2 separate regions of the Homo sapiens genome follow, and region 2 is linked to region 1. The links are contacts of gene promoters, found by promoter capture Hi-C in blood cells and fetal thymus (Javierre and others, 2016). All regions are on one chromosome and are shown on one strand. The core of a region is centred on a gene start or on the middle of the fragment in contact, and the rest is flanking DNA. Distances in the headings are between cores, read along the strand shown.

What was found. Contacts are between HindIII fragments. The CHiCAGO score rates a contact against its expected background, and 5 or more counts as called.
Region 2: a contact is called between a fragment that was not itself captured here and the fragment with the promoter of ARL14EPL in region 1, in 2 of 17 cell types (monocytes and total B cells). The highest score is 6.9, in monocytes.

The regions. Positions count from the first base shown.
Region 1 is chr5:116,031,101-116,034,032 of GRCh38, reverse strand. It overlaps ARL14EPL (ARF like GTPase 14 effector protein like), which reads right to left and starts at 1,561. Exons shown (of 4, transcript NM_001195581.2): 1 at 1,528-1,561. RefSeq lists an enhancer at 1,917-1,966. The HindIII fragment of the contact is 15,754 bases long and covers 1-2,932 here.
Region 2 is chr5:115,310,923-115,313,854 of GRCh38, reverse strand. All of the region lies in intron 1 of LOC105379129 (a long non-coding RNA gene), which reads right to left. Among named protein-coding and RNA genes, the nearest start is that of CCDC112, 16 kb to the right of the region's middle. The HindIII fragment of the contact is 417 bases long and covers 1,320-1,736 here.

The sequences.
Region 1 (2,932 bases), core at 312-2,811:
TCAGTAGAAACCTGAGAGCAGAGAAGGTGACAGCCTCATCTCATTGCTTGGCATTGTTTGTGAGAGAAAGCAAAGAAAGTGAGGAAGCCTTTATATCGTGCTATTTCTTTTCCATGGCAATCAAAATAATTAAAGCGCAGTTCAGCTGAGGACAGGCAAGTGTTCACATACACACTATTCCCACAAACATATACTCTATTTTAAATACACACACAGCCTTTTTTTCACGAAACAAACTTTTTAGCAAACAAAATAAGTTATAATATACTTTTAAGAATATAGCTTGGGTAGAAAGAGTTTGTACTAAAAAGCCTGCAACTTATTATTTTGAAAATCTTGATCCAAGGATCTACATTTTTAAAATAGAGTAGATAATATCTACCTGTATTTTTCATTTTTTCATTCTGTGCCTCTAAATTCCATTTAGAATTTTGAAGTCATGTTGTACCACCCAAATCAAGATAATTTTATTCATCTAGTTAGATTTTCTTCAGTGAAAAAATTACAGGTGATCTTAATTTATGATGAAGTTATGTCCCCATAAGCCTATAGTAAGTTGAAAATGCATTTAATGCACCAAACATCATAGCTTAGCATAGTCTACCTCAAATGTTCTGAGAACACTTACATTAGCCTCCAGTTGGGCAACATCATCTAACACAAAGCCTATTTTATAATAAAATGTTGAAAATCTCATGTAATTAATGGAATACTACACTAAAAGTGAAAAAAATAGAATAGCTCTGTAGGTACTCAAAGTATGGTTACTATTGAATTTGTATCACTTTTGCACCACTGGAAAGTATGAAAATAGTAACTCAAACCACGGTAAGTCGGGGATTTCCTGTAGTAAAAGGAGGTGGTAATATGTACCTAGCAGAGAGTTGTTATTTCACTTCTACTAGAGTGTAACAATTAAGAATACATAGCTATAGGCCGGGTGTGGGGGCTCACACCTGGAATCCCAGCACTTTGGCAGGCTGAGGCAGGTGGATCACTTGAGCCCAGGAGCTCAAGACCAGCCCAGGCAACATGGTGAAACCCCATCTCAACTAAAAATACAAAAAATTGTCCAGGCATGGTGGTGCACACCTGTAGTCCCAGCTACTCAGGAGGCTGAGGTGGGAGAATCACCTGAGCCCAGGAAGTCGAGGCTGCGGCGAGCGGAGATGGCAGCACTGCACTCCAGCCTGCATTGACAGACTGACACCCTGTTTCAAAAAAACAAAAACAAAAACCACCACAACAAAAAACTCAGAATACACAGCTATGTATCAGGAATTATATGCTACCTTCCAAGGTCCCCAGTGGATGCCTGAAACCATGGATAGTATCCTACTCTATATACACTACGGTTTTTCCTGTACATATGTACTTAAGATAAAGTTAATTTATAAATTAGGCACAGTAAGAAATTAACAACAGTAACTAACAATAAAATAGAACAATTATAACAATACATTGTAATTAAAAATATGCAAATATGGTATCTTTCTCTTTCAAAATATCTTATTGTACTGTACTCACGCTTCTTATGATGATGTAAAATGGTCAAATGGCTACGTGATGGGATGAAGTGAGGGCAATAACACAGGTATTGTGACGTAGATGGAAAATTCCAGAAATAAACAACTCTTAAGTTTCAAACTGTGCACTGTTCTGAGTGGTGCGATGAAATCTCTTGCCCTCCTGCTTCGGCCCACTGGATGGCAATGAGTCACCACGTAGTCACCTTGGCGATTAGAGCAACTGTTGCAGTATTGCAGTGCTTGTGTTCAAGTGACCCTTATTGTACTTAATAGTGGCCCCAAAACACAGGGTAGTGATGTAATATTTTTGAACTATAGTTGACCCCGAGTAACTGAAACTGTGGAAAATGAAACTGCAGCTAAGGGAAGACTACTTTACTATACATCTAGACGTGTACTGATTATACAAAATGGTAAAATATTATTAGCTATAACTGTAACATGGACTAAGTCAAGTTGTTAGCATAATAATTTCAAGTTACATGATTCACCCATGTATATGTAAAAGTCTTCCCAAAAGGCTTAGTGAAATTGTAAGATTTAATATTTTTAGAAGTATAAACACTACAGACTTTTATATAAAAGTTTCAAACAAGTTTTATTTAAAAGTGTAATGACTTACATTTATTTTTCATTTATATAGCTTTGTTAATTTAGAGTAACACATTTTAAAATTTTTAGTTTTTAGTTCCTCTGGTTGAAGATGGGAAGCGTTGACTGAAACAAGAAATTAAGTCTTTTCGGACAACTTGAATTTCCAACTTGGGCATAATTATTAAAATGCTTAGTAGATAACTTCAGGATTGTGGCTGTGGCCATTACCAAATTTGAAAGAAAAAAGTGACTTGAAATGAAAGTGCATTGCAGTTCCAGTAACAAATAGATGATAAACTTTATTTATCTTAAGTTTAATTTATTCAGAAACTTACAGAAAAGCTGGAGTTACTATAAAAATATTTTTTTTCCTGAATCAATAGGTTACTGCTTCACTCCTTCATGTATATTTCTTACAACCAAAATATTTTCTACATAAATACAACAAGCCATCAAAGTTGAGAAATTAACAATGATAGCATCTAATCTTCAGACTCCACCCAAGTTTTGCCAATTGTCCCAGTAATGTTAGTCTTTTATGGCGAAAGGAACCAGTTCAGGACCACACACTACATTCAGTTGTCATGTCTCTAAGCTCCTTCAGTCTAGAACAGATCCTCTGTCTTTCCTTGACTTTCATGACCTTGAGACTTGGATATTATTTTTGTGACATGTCCCTCAGTTTGTTTTTTCTTCATTATTAGATTCATGTTATGCAGTTTTGTTAGAAGTATAACAAGAGTAACAATGTAGTTTGTCATTTCATCTTATTAAATGGAATAAAATTTCTATTTATTCCACTGCAATGG
Region 2 (2,932 bases), core at 279-2,778, 720 kb after region 1:
AAATGTCTGACTAAATTAGGTTACATCCTGCAGGCCCTTCACCTGTCTCTCACGTAAATAACATTACCCAAGGGTGTCCTCTCAGCCCTACTCATGACTGGCACAAAGACATTTCAGCCCACATAAATTACCTTTTTTCTGGTTTTGTGAGAAACTTGGTTCCCTCAAATGGTTGTGATATGAAAATTCGCTCAAAGCCGAAGGTGAATGATAAAATAAAATGGGCTCTAAAAGGACACTTCTACATCTAAATTCAAGAATTCTATGGTTCTAGGATATAGTATAAAAATTAATGGAATCTGTTTCACATAAGCAAGCAGATTTAGGATTAGAAGCATGTCATAACTTGAAGGCAACCCAAAATTTATTTTTAGGCTACATGAATCTTTCAGAGTTCTTGATTTCAGACAATGAAACTCCCCCTAGGTAGTTTAGGCAGCAAAAGGAATTGTATTAAAGATTTTAAGCAGTTCTTGGAATCTCAGTGAGGGCTACAGAATAAACCATGGCTGCTCTGAGGCTGGGAGCCATATGAAAGTTACACAGATGGTTCCAGGGGGCACTCTATTGCTGCTGTGCCTGGGCACAGACAACCCAGCTTTTGCCCCGAGTGGCGGACACTGGAAACTCTGCCTAGAACCTCTGGCAACATCTCTGGAAGGTAGAGCCTCTCCCTCTATCTGCCATGATGGATTCTGTGAGATGCCTCACTCACTCCAGCATGGAGGTCTCAATAAGATGGGTCTAATTGGCAGAACCTGGACACTAGATCCTCAAATTGAAGATGTCAGGAGAGTTTCTGACTTCATCTTTGAAGAACGAACTCTCAGAAATCAGGAAACTCTCCAAATATAAAATGGGCTCAAAGGTAATGAGTGGCAATGCCCACTTCAAGTAGTATAACCTTAGCTTCCCCTGGGGACCTGGAAAGCCCGGGTCACATCTTCCCGGGGAGTTAATGCCCATGGGCAGACTCTTGACCAGGGGCATATGTAGAATGAAATGGACTGGCAGATAAATTGTTTTCCCTTCCTCTCCCCTGGTGGGCTGCCTTGATATGTAAAGTTCATTTGGCCTTACTGAGCACATCCCATGAGATGCAACATGAACTATACTTGTTGCCAACAAGAGGCTGACTCAAACTTCCCTCATGTTTGCCCCTTTTCCCTCACTTCTGTTTCCCTGGGAATGTAACTCCCAAAACAGATAGCAGCACATAAGCCTTTCCTTTAGGCTCTGGTTTCTACGGGTGCAAAAGCATCTCACTGCAGATGCAAAGTATTCTTATTAGAGCCTTTGCCTGGTCTCTATGACAAGCTTCAATTATTTTTCCTAGAAAACTAGTAATAGAAGCTCATGCCAATTTGTAAGACTGCATTTGCCATAACTGTCGTTCATACTAAAAATTTCTTTTCTACTATCTCTAGTTTTGTCTTGTGTGCAAAGAAAGAATTATTCATTGGGGCTCAGGTTGTGAGAGTGAGGAGTAGATGAATGAACCGGTCAGCTCTCTCAAATTCAGTGAGAGTCTCCTCGCTGCTACATCAAATGGCATCATGCTTTGTTATAGCCATGCTGAATTTCTTCTAGTTCCCTAAACAAACTATTGTATATCATTTCTCCGTGCTCTCTATCTCAGGTTTTCTCTCCTAAGAAGCTGTCTTCCTTTCCACTATTACTACTGCTAATAGTGGAATTAATACAGCTAACTGCGTCTGGTCCTTGAAAACTAAGCTTGGGTGTCACTTCTTTAAGGAAGCCCTGCTGAAGACCCCTTCCCACTACTCTAATTTATACCAAACTGCATATTCCTATAATACCCTGTGCATTGTATTTATTTGAGCCAAACTGGACTTCAGCTATTGGTCTATTGACCTGTCTTCCCTGACAAGATAGCTGCTTGAGAGCAACGACCATGCCTCATTTGGCTTTGTAGCCCTAGCAGCAAGCACTGTAACTGGCACATAATGATCGTCTAATTAAAAGCTGTTTGAATGAATAAATAATGTTTATGGAATAACTGAATTACACCAGTCAGGGTCCCTGTGCCATGTTGTGGCAGTGGCTAAAAAAAAAAATCTATCCAGCCGGGCGCGGTGGCTCACGCCTGTAGTCCCAGCACTTTGGGAGGCCAAGGCGGGTGGATCACGAAGACAGGAGATCGAGGCCATCCTGACTAAGATGGTGAAACCCCGTCTGTACTAAAAAAAATACAAAAAATTAGCCGGGTTTGGTGGCAGGCACCTGTGGTCCCAGCTACTGGGGAGGCTGAGGCAGGAGAATGGTGGAGCTTGCAATGAGCCAAGATCACATCACTGCACGCCAGCCTGGGCAACAGAGCAAGACTCCATCTCAAAATAAATAAATAAATAAATAAATAAATAAATAAATAAATAAATAAATGAATAAATAAAATAAAATAAAATAAAATAAAAAATCTATCCAAGCCCTTCCCTGGATTGAAGAGTGCTTCATCCTTCCACCCACCTGTGAGATACAGTCAATAACTACATTGAGCCATCCCAATTGAAAAATCCTGTAATTTCCCTAGGAAAGATGGCTCAATGTCATGTTTTTGGTTGATTCCTGAGTGAGTGAGGATAATAAAAAAAAATTACTATTGAAAAAAAAATAAGCGAAATGTATATACCTAGGACTTGCCTTAGATGACCAGTGTTTTTGTCATCTCCATCTCACTTCACCAATGGAACAAAAATAGTTATTAAGAAATGACATTTAACTGTTCTCATATTTAGAAGTTATCTGTCCCATATATCTGAAGCTGACCCTCATTCCAAATACTTGTCCAAATATGTCCTAATTTTTAGTTTAGAAAATACATACTCATTTATTTTTTCATGGATCCATCTAAAAAATTCAAATTGATGTCTAAGATGGGCTGCCTCAGGCATAGATATGCAATAGTAAATGG